2 separate regions of the Homo sapiens genome follow, and region 1 is linked to region 2. Evidence: promoter capture Hi-C in human tissues and cell types (Jung and others, 2019). All regions are on one chromosome and are shown on one strand. The core of a region is centred on a gene start or on the middle of the fragment in contact, and the rest is flanking DNA. Distances in the headings are between cores, read along the strand shown. Region 1 overlaps LOC105371293 (a long non-coding RNA gene). Region 2 holds the start of NDRG4 (NDRG family member 4).

The links. Contacts are between HindIII fragments. The study calls those that stand out against the background at their distance.
Region 1: a fragment that was not itself captured here is called in contact with the fragment with the promoter of NDRG4 in region 2 in 1 of the 25 tissues and cell types used here (aorta).

Annotation. Positions count from the first base shown.
Region 1 is chr16:58,240,565-58,244,877 of GRCh38, reverse strand. LOC105371293 (a long non-coding RNA gene) reads left to right here. Exons shown (of 4, transcript XR_933630.2): 3 at 1,969-2,108. Among named protein-coding and RNA genes, the nearest start is that of CFAP263, 7.2 kb to the left of the region's middle. RefSeq lists an enhancer at 1,311-1,370. The HindIII fragment of the contact is 3,325 bases long and covers 773-4,097 here.
Region 2 is chr16:58,498,251-58,502,902 of GRCh38, reverse strand. It overlaps NDRG4 (NDRG family member 4), which reads right to left and starts at 2,760. Exons shown (of 15, transcript NM_001242835.2): 1 at 2,634-2,760. The coding sequence starts at 2,654. RefSeq lists enhancers at 809-858, 451-1,267, 1,268-2,085, 2,086-2,902 and silencers at 2,782-2,841, 2,852-2,931. The HindIII fragment of the contact is 53,618 bases long and covers 1-4,652 here.

The sequences.
Region 1 (4,313 bases), core at 1,186-3,685, 260 kb after region 2:
GAGGCAGGGGCAAGGGCTCCCAGGGAGCAGACTGCTCTGACACCAAGATGGGGCAAGATAAAGGATTTTCACAAGTCAGATGTCTCCACAGAAAGAGGCTGGAGGCATATCATAAAATGCAGAAGATCAAGAGGAATCTTAAGAAAAAACACTGTGGGATCAGGGAATCAGTGGGATTCATCAGTGGGAGAATCATTAGGGAACCCACAGTAGGCCTTGGGAGTGAGAAGCTTTGGGGCACAAGCTGGTCACAAGAGCATAAGTCCGAAATCACTGCTGTCATGTGAGACCTCCTCTGCCTCTTAACGTCTCCCCTTGTGCTCTCGGGCTCTACCCTGGAAAATCCAGAGGCAACAGAGTGGAGAAGAGGAGGGGAGAAAAGCAAGATGGGAAAAGGAGACTGAGGCTGATCTGAGCTGGTATCTCATCCAGTTATTAATCCTGAAAACCTCCATATCCCAGGGATAGCTCCAGAGACGTGGATCTGAAAAAGGAAATAAACAGACCCTGGCTCAATCCTCAATCAGTAGAGTCTGTCACAGCTGAGCAACATATATCGCTTTAATCGATGTTAAGGAAGAATTGAGTTAGTAAGGAAGAGGGATATTTCAAATATTGGCAAACAAAAAAATAATAGTAATAACAGCAAACATTCGAGTGCTTTGTCCCCTAACCCTGTAAAATAAGTACTATTGTAACCAAGTATCCCAGCCTCAAACTGCGTTTTAAAACATTTTTCCCTTCTTGCTTCCAGCCTTGAAACATACTTTGAAACTTTTTGTTTTGCCTTTTCCCACCAGCCACTTCTATGAACAGTACTCGCTTATCTAATTATGTGCTTGCTTAGAAATTCCAGGGATCGATTTTGAAACAAGCCAGGCAGAGAGACCCAGCTGTGGAACCCTCTGATTAGGGGGAGTTAGGAGCAGTTAGCCCACCACTACCGCAGTCAGCATGATGCAAACCGGTCCTCCAGACAGGCGATGACTCAAGATAACAAGACCTCCTGCTGCACCACTCCCGCGTTTCTCTCACCTTTTTCCTTCTTAAACCCCTTCACTCAGCCCAAAAAGTTAGAATGGTCTTTCAGAGGCATGGGCCTGTCCATTCCCCAACTGCTAGCATTTGAATAAAGTTGCTTTCCTTTCACCACAACTTGCTTCTTGTGTTTTTGGCCTCCAAGCGGTGAGCAGCTGGACTTGGCCAGTTACACTATTACTCACCTCATTTGTATAGGTGAGGAAGTGAAAGCCAGAGAGGCGATGTGAATTACTCAGTCAAACAGCAGGTGACATGCAGAGCTAGAGCCGAAAGCTTGTACCTTTAATCATTACTCATTCCTTTCCATCCCAGTCCTTCTCCTATCCATCCAAAGCCATTCCCACTAAGGTGTTGGAAGAGTTCATTGAGATTACATTTAACCAGGTACCAGGCATGGAGCAAGCTCTGGGTTATTATTTTCCTAGATTAAAGGCCTGACTATGCAAATGTGCATCTCTAAAATGTAAGAAGCTTAGTACATTTTCCTTTGTACTGCCTTCTCTTGATATTTTCCTTTGTAGTGTCTTTCCTTGATCCTGCTCGTCTTCAGAAGTGAGGAGGAGACAGAAAAAATATTTGAAGAAATAATGGCTGAATTTTTCCACATTTGATGAAAATTACAAACCTATAGATCTAAGAAGTTCAACCAACCTCATATAACAATAAACATGAGGAAAATGACACCAAAGATACCATAACTAAATTGCTTACAACTAGGGATAAACAGAAAACCTTAGAAGCAGCCAGGAAAAAAAAAAAAGACACAGTATATACAAAGAATCAAGGATTAAAATGATAGATTTCTTGTAGGTAACAATTCAAGCTGGTAGAGTTCTGAAAGAAAAAAAAAAACACCTGTCAAACTAGAATACTTTACACAGCAAAAATATCTTTTAAAAATAAAGACAAAATAAATATTTTTTTCAGATATTCAAAAGCTTGAAAGAATTTGTTGCCAGAAGAGCTTCACTATACAAGATATGTTAAAGGATGTCCTTCAGGCAGAAAGAAGATGATACCAGATGGAAATCTGGATCAACACAAAGAAATGAAGAGCACTAGAAATGGTAACTAAGTGGATAAGTAAATATATTTCTCTCATTATTTAATTTTCTTTGAAAGATAAATAACTTTATATAACAAAAATTATGTATTGTAGAGTTTACAACATTTACATTGTAGCTAAGCACGGTGGCTCATGCCTGTAATCCCAGCACTTTGGGAGGCAGAGGCCAGTGGATCACTTGAGGTCAGGAGTTTGAGATCAGCCTGACCAACATGGTGAAACCTTGTCTCTACTAAAAAAAATATGAAATTAGCCGGGCGTGGTGGCACATACCTGTAATCTCAGCTACTTGGGAGTCTGAGGCAGGAGAATTGCTTGAACCCAGGAGGCAGAGGTTGCAGTGAGCCCAGATCGGGCCATTGCATTCCAGCCAGGGTGACAAGAGCAAAAAACTCCATCTCAAAAGAAAGAAAGAAAGAAAAAAAAAACATTTACATTGTAGAGTTTATAAGTGAAATGTATGACAATGATAGTAGAGGAGAAATGGGAGTGTGATGGTATAAAGTTCTTATACTATACATAAAGTGGTATAATAACACTTGAAGATAGACTGTACTAAGTTAAAGAAATGTACCATAAACCCCAAAGCAATGACAAAAATGACACAGCAAAGACATAAAACTAAAAGAGTAGCTTTAACTCTAGACTGAATGTCTAGACAATGTGGTAGACAGAACAATGGCCCGCAAAGATATCCAGGTTCTAATCATTGGAACCTATGAATATTACCTTGTAAAGGGGGAAAAGGTCTTAACAATTTTAGCGATTAAGTTAAAGGTCTTAAAATGGAGTGGTTATCCTGGATTATGTAAGTGGGCCCTAAAAGCAATCACAAGTGTCCTTACAAGAGGGAGGCAGAAGGAGATTCTACTACAGAAGAGAGAAAGCAATGTGACAACCTCAGCAGAGAGAGACTTGAAGATGCTATGCTGTGGACTTTGAAGATGGAGGAGAGGGCCTAGGAGCCAAGGAATGCAAGGAATGAAGCTCTAAAAACTGGAGAATTCTCCCCTTAAGCCTCTAGAGAAAATACAGCCCTGCTGAGTGAGACCCATTTTGGACTTCTGGCCTCTGGAACTATAAGAGAATAAATTTGTGTTGTTTTAAGCCACAAAGTTTGTGGCAATATATCACAATAGCCTATGAAACTAATACAGCTAAGTCAACAAAGGAGATAAAGTGGAATTATAAAATATTCGAATGGATCCAAAAGAAGGCAGAAAAAGGGAAATATAAACAAAAAGAACAAATAGAAGCAAGGCAATAAAGAAAAAATAGATAAGTTGGACTTATTAAAAACTTTTGTGCTTCATAGAACACCATCAAGAAAGTGAAAAGACAATCCACAGAATGAGAGAAAAATTGCAAATCATATATATGATGAGAGATTTATATCCAGGATACATAAAGAACTATTATTACAACTCAATAATTAAAAGATAAGCAAATAGGCCAGGCTCAGTGGCTCATGCCGGTAATCCCAGCACTTTGGGAGGCTGAGGCGGGCAGATCACTTGAGGTCAGGAGTTCAAAACCAGCCTAGCCAACATGGTGAAACCCTGTCTCTACTAAAAACACAAAATTTAGCCAGGTGTGGTGGCGGACATCACTTGAACCCGGGAGGCGGAAGTTGCAGTGAGCCGAGATCACGCCATTGCATTCCAGCCTGGCAACAAGAGCGAAACTCCGTCTCAAAAAAGTAATAAATAAATAAGCAAATGATTTGAATGGACATTTATCCAAAAAAGATATACAAGTGATCAATAAGCACATGAAAAGATGCCCAACATCATTAGTCATCATGGAAGCATAATATATAATAGAACATATAATATATAATTAAAAAGACAGATAAAAACAAGTATCAGTAAGAATGTGGAGAAATTGGAACCCCCATAAACTGCTGGTGGGAATGGAAAATGGTGCAGCTCCTTCAGAAAACAAAGTTTGGTTGTTACTAAAAGGCTAAACATAGAGTTACCATGTGATCCACCAATTCTACTCCTAGTATATACTCAAAAGAAATTAAAACACATATCCATGCATGAACTTGTACATGAATGTGCACAGTGGTATTATTTAAACTAACCAAAAAGACACAAATGCCTATCAACTGATGAGCAGATGAACAAATGTTGTATCTATAAAATGTAATATTATTTGGCAATAAAAAACGAATGAAGTATGGATACATACAACAAGGACA
Region 2 (4,652 bases), core at 1,511-4,010:
CCTTCTCGCTGTTCCTTTGCAAACTGGGCATTCTTAGCCACTCGGATGGGCAAACTTCAAGAGGGGCCATCTGAGCTAAATAAACCGATCCTCTCTGCATCATTGTGAGCCCTGGGAACCACGTGAGTGGCCCAGTGAGTTGGAGGTGGGGCTGGGGTCAAGGACATGAAAGAAACATCAAGCGACTGAGCACCTACTGTGTGCCAGGCTTCCTGCATGTTACCCAAGAGACAGGAACCCTAGTCCCTGTTTTGCAGGTGAGGACACTTTGGTTTAGAAAGAACCTGAGTTCCTGCCTCCAAATGGGAAAGGAGATTTAGACAGCAGAAGACAGCTGCTCAGGGGCCAGCATTAGTGGGTCTGGTCTCAGAGGACCACTGTCCAGGCCTGTGTCTCCAGTGTGGAGTGACAAGCTGGCACCAACCTGGTGGCCAAAGGCTCTACCCTGGAGAACACTCTTTGACTTGCAGGCCCTTTTTATTTCCCTGTTGTCCTCCAGGAGAGCCCAGGTAATGAGCCTTAGGGTGAGCCATGCGGCTGATTGCACCACCCAGGGGATGAGGAGGCCACACCAGGGCTGAGAGGGGACAGACCACACAGCCCCTCCCATCCCAGGCCTATCCTTTCTCGGGGCCCATCAAATCCAGGAACACTTCCCCGCCACTGACCACTGACCCACAGTTTTCTCATTTACTTCCCACATAGGCCCAAGCCATAGAGGAGGAAATTGAGGCTAGGAAAGGGAAATGACTTGCCCAAGGTCAATCCCAGAGTAGGGAGGGCAGGCCCTGCCAGGTGCCAGTCTCAGGGGCCAGGGCGGTGCACTGAAGGCTGCATGTTCACAGGAGATCAGGTTCCACCCGAGGGAGCTCCTGACCAGGCAGCCCTTTCACAGCCACCTGTGAGTTCTCTCAGCTCTGGAGGGTGGGGCTGCAAAAGAACTGCAATGCGCCTCCTGCTGCATAAAGGACAGTTATCCTCCTGGGGTCAGACGTCGAGAGCCCAGGGCGGTGCCTTCCAAACCCAGACCCGCAGCGTGCGGGTCCGCCTGAGGGGTGTGAGGGGTGTCTGCTCTCTGCTGCTGAGGAGGCCCCACTGTCTTCTCCCAGCCCTGGTGTGGCCGCCCCTGTCCCCATCCCCCTGAGGTGACGTGATCAGGCTCTACTAGGGCTCATCTCCCAGGATGGGAAGGGCTGGGGCTGGGCCTGGGCGTCACCGGGCTACCTGTCCTACGAAGTCCAGTGACCTTCGCTGAACCCTGCTGCGAACCTCCCTAACGCCTTCTCTCACCCTCTGCGGAGAGCTCAGGACTCAGTTCAGCCTGATCGAAGCCAAACATCCCCGTCCCTTGGAGCGCTGCGCAAGGGCAGCCCCACAAGGGCCACAGCGCGGTGCACTCTGAGGCCCCCAACCCTCAGGGCCGAGCACTCCCATTGGCTCTGGGTGACGTCAGAGCCGGCCCCGCCTCCAGGTAGGCGCAGGCGGGAAGCACTGCGGCAGCAGGGGAGGGGGCTGTGGCGGCTCCTCTCGGTCGGTCCGTCTCCCCTCGCCTGTGACCTTGAGCACTGGAGGGGAGTGGGGCTTTGAGCCGGGCTTTGCGCCGGTGTGGGAGTTGGTGCTGGTGGTGCTGTGGTTCGGCCTGTCAGCCGCATCAATAATTCAGGGGACAGGGTCTGCATGGGCGGGCAGGTGCTGACGTCGTCACCTCCGTGCGTGCGGGGTGACCTATCGTCTGCGGAACCGGCAGGGCAGGCGTGTGGGGCCCGGGGGTGGGGGTGAGTCTGCCCCTGCCTCTCCCTCCTGAGGAAGAATGGGGCCGGGGTACCTGATGCCCCGGCGAGAGGAGGTGCCCTGGGCTCCACCTGGGGTCCCCTAGCCCTGCCAGCTTCACGGCTCCAGCGTTGCCTTCCCCCACCTACAAAATAAGGCAGGCAGGCAACCCCTCCTCGTTCCTCCCCAGCAGGGACCCCTGCCTGAAAGGCTGTCATTCCTGTGTGGCCCAGACCTCCTTGCCTCTGCCCGGCTGGCGCAGCAGAGCCCTGGGAACTGTGAGGTGGCTCCTAAGGAAGAGGCCGCCTGTCCTTCCCATCACACTGGCGCAGCCATCCAAACAAGCTAGACGGCCGCCCACTGGGACGGCAGCCCCTGCACGCACAGACCCGGCACGCACACTGGGCACACAGCCTCGGGGGCTCACCAAGGACACCCCCGCCCCCTGGCCTGATGGCCCCAGGCATCACCAAGGCAGACACCATCCAAGCGCACACCAGAGGGCACACGGTCAGAGGGACATGCAGGCACTAGCGCCCGGGTCCACACGGGCAATGCAGCCAAGTCAGACAGTGCCTTCCACGTTCCATTTCCTGCAGATATGTCACCCACCCCCCAACCACACGCTCCCCCCAGCCCCTGCTATGGGCTCTGACTAGCAGCTGCCCCCAGCCACTCCTGCAAACAGGATCACCAGGGAACCTGGAGCACTCTGGCCGTGTCTCAGTGACCCCAGGGTGAGGCTATTTGAAGGCCGGGCTGCCACCAGATGTGGGTTGAGGGGGGCACTTCCTCCCTGCGGTGGGTCATAAGGATGCACCATCCTCCCGGCCCACCTTGATGCCCGCAGCGCCCTCACTCACCCCATCCCAGCACTCCGGCATCTTGCCGAGGGAGGGAACCCGCCTCTACCAGGAAGGACAAACAAAGGCCTGAGTCACTCGGGTCCAGAGGGCGGGGGCAGCTCGAGTGGGAGATGGTCGGCTCTGTGATGGGGCACAGCTCCTGGGCCATTTATACAGGGATCCTGGCCCAGCCTAGCTAGCCCCTCCTCCCCGCAGGGTTTCTGAGCAGCCACTCGCTTACCAGGAGCCCCAGCTCCCATATTGGCTGCTGGGAGACAAGCCTGGCTCCAATTGGCTTCTGAAGTCCTCCTTGCCCCAGCCCTGTCACTGCTCCTCCCACCCCAGCCACACATCATCCTTGATGGTCCCCAGCCCCTGCATCCGCCCCCAGCACATAGGCACACGCCAACAGCTGCAGCTCACACGGGATCCTCCGAATACAAAAGCCGAGACCACACGTACAGACTCACCCATGTCAGGTACACACAGGGTCGTCACAGACATGCACAGCTTACCAATGCGGGGCAGGGCAGGGTGCATGGGCACTGCCCAGACAGCTAGAGCCCTTGACCCACACCTTGGGGAGTATGGAGGGCCCGAGAGGGCCCCAAGCCCAACATCTTGGGGACCAGACCCCCACGCCCAGCCTTCCCATTAGGAAGGTTCCATCGCTTAACCTTGTGGAGGCCTGGGGAGCTGCTGCTTTCTGGGGCAACTTGGGTTATCACCCTGCTTCAAGGGGCTGCTCCTTCTCCACCCACCAGGGATGAAAATCCCACCTTGCCCACGCAGATACAGGGGGTTTCCCCACATGCTGAAAATGGAGTTTGGGGGCCGGGGGCCAGGGGCCCTGGGCAGATAGCAGGGCCAGGGGTATGGTCAGGCACACACCAGCTCTGCCCTCCCCACCCTCACCCTGCTGCCAGGGGCTCCAGACCACCAGGGAGAGGAAGCGGGGCTAGGAGGCAGCTTGCTGACATTGACATGCCCACCTCCTGTAGACCCACCCGGCCCTCGTTCCCAGAGGCAACCAGTTTGGGGCTTGGCTCTCGGGTCTCTGGGGAGCAGAACACTAGGTCTATCTCAGGCTCCGTGCCCTGTTCTCCTGGGCAGCAAGGATCTGGGTGGCGAGCTCGCCCGAGGCCTGCAGGTGGAGTGAGCAGAGGAGAAGAAAGGCCAAGAAGTGCACAGGAGGAGAGGAAATAGGCCAGAGAGGGAAGCAGAGGAGGGGGCCCAAGGCTGGGAGAGCAGGAGCCACAGAGAGAAGGGGGCTGCTGCGTGCCTATGCTCCCAAATCCATGAAGATTATATGTATTATCGTTGCAACTGCCTGTGCAGTAGGCACTGCTGTTTCTCCCATTTATATATGGAGGCTCAGAGAGGTTGACTGACTTGCCCAAGGTCACACAGCAAAGAAGTGGCAGACCTATGAGTGGGATCAGGGTTTGGCTGGCAAGACCTGACCCTGCCTTGTCTGGCCACGATAACTGCACAACTGCCAGAAAAGGGGCCAACAGTTTGGAGAGGCACACAGACTGCCCCATTTCTCTCCTGCCAGGGCCTGGGCAAGGGTGGGGTCAGGGCACAGAGCCTGAGATAGCCCTAGTGTCCTGCTCCCCAGATACCCGAGAGCCAAGCCCCAAACTGGTTGCCTCCAGGAACAAGGGCCGGGTGGGTCTACAGGAGGTGGGCATGTCAACGTCAGTAGCTGCCTCCTATCCGGCTTCCTCTCCCTGTCTTGCTGAAGAAGGAACACGCCACTCACCCCAGCCCATGCTGATGGCCCTGCATGCTGACTGGCTGCCCTTGGAGAAAGTGGTCATCTCTTCATCTCTGGGTACCTGCTGACCTGGTCGACACCTGCTATGTACACTATTGCTGGTCATGTCCTCTGCCTGGGGGCACCTATTCCATCTCTCACCTCTTACTCTGGAGGCCTAGGGAAGACTGACAGGCCCTGTGCTCCCCAGGGCAGCAGGAAGTAGAATGGGGAGTCCCCCTGGCCCGTCACCTCCTGGCCATGCTCCCCATTCCTGC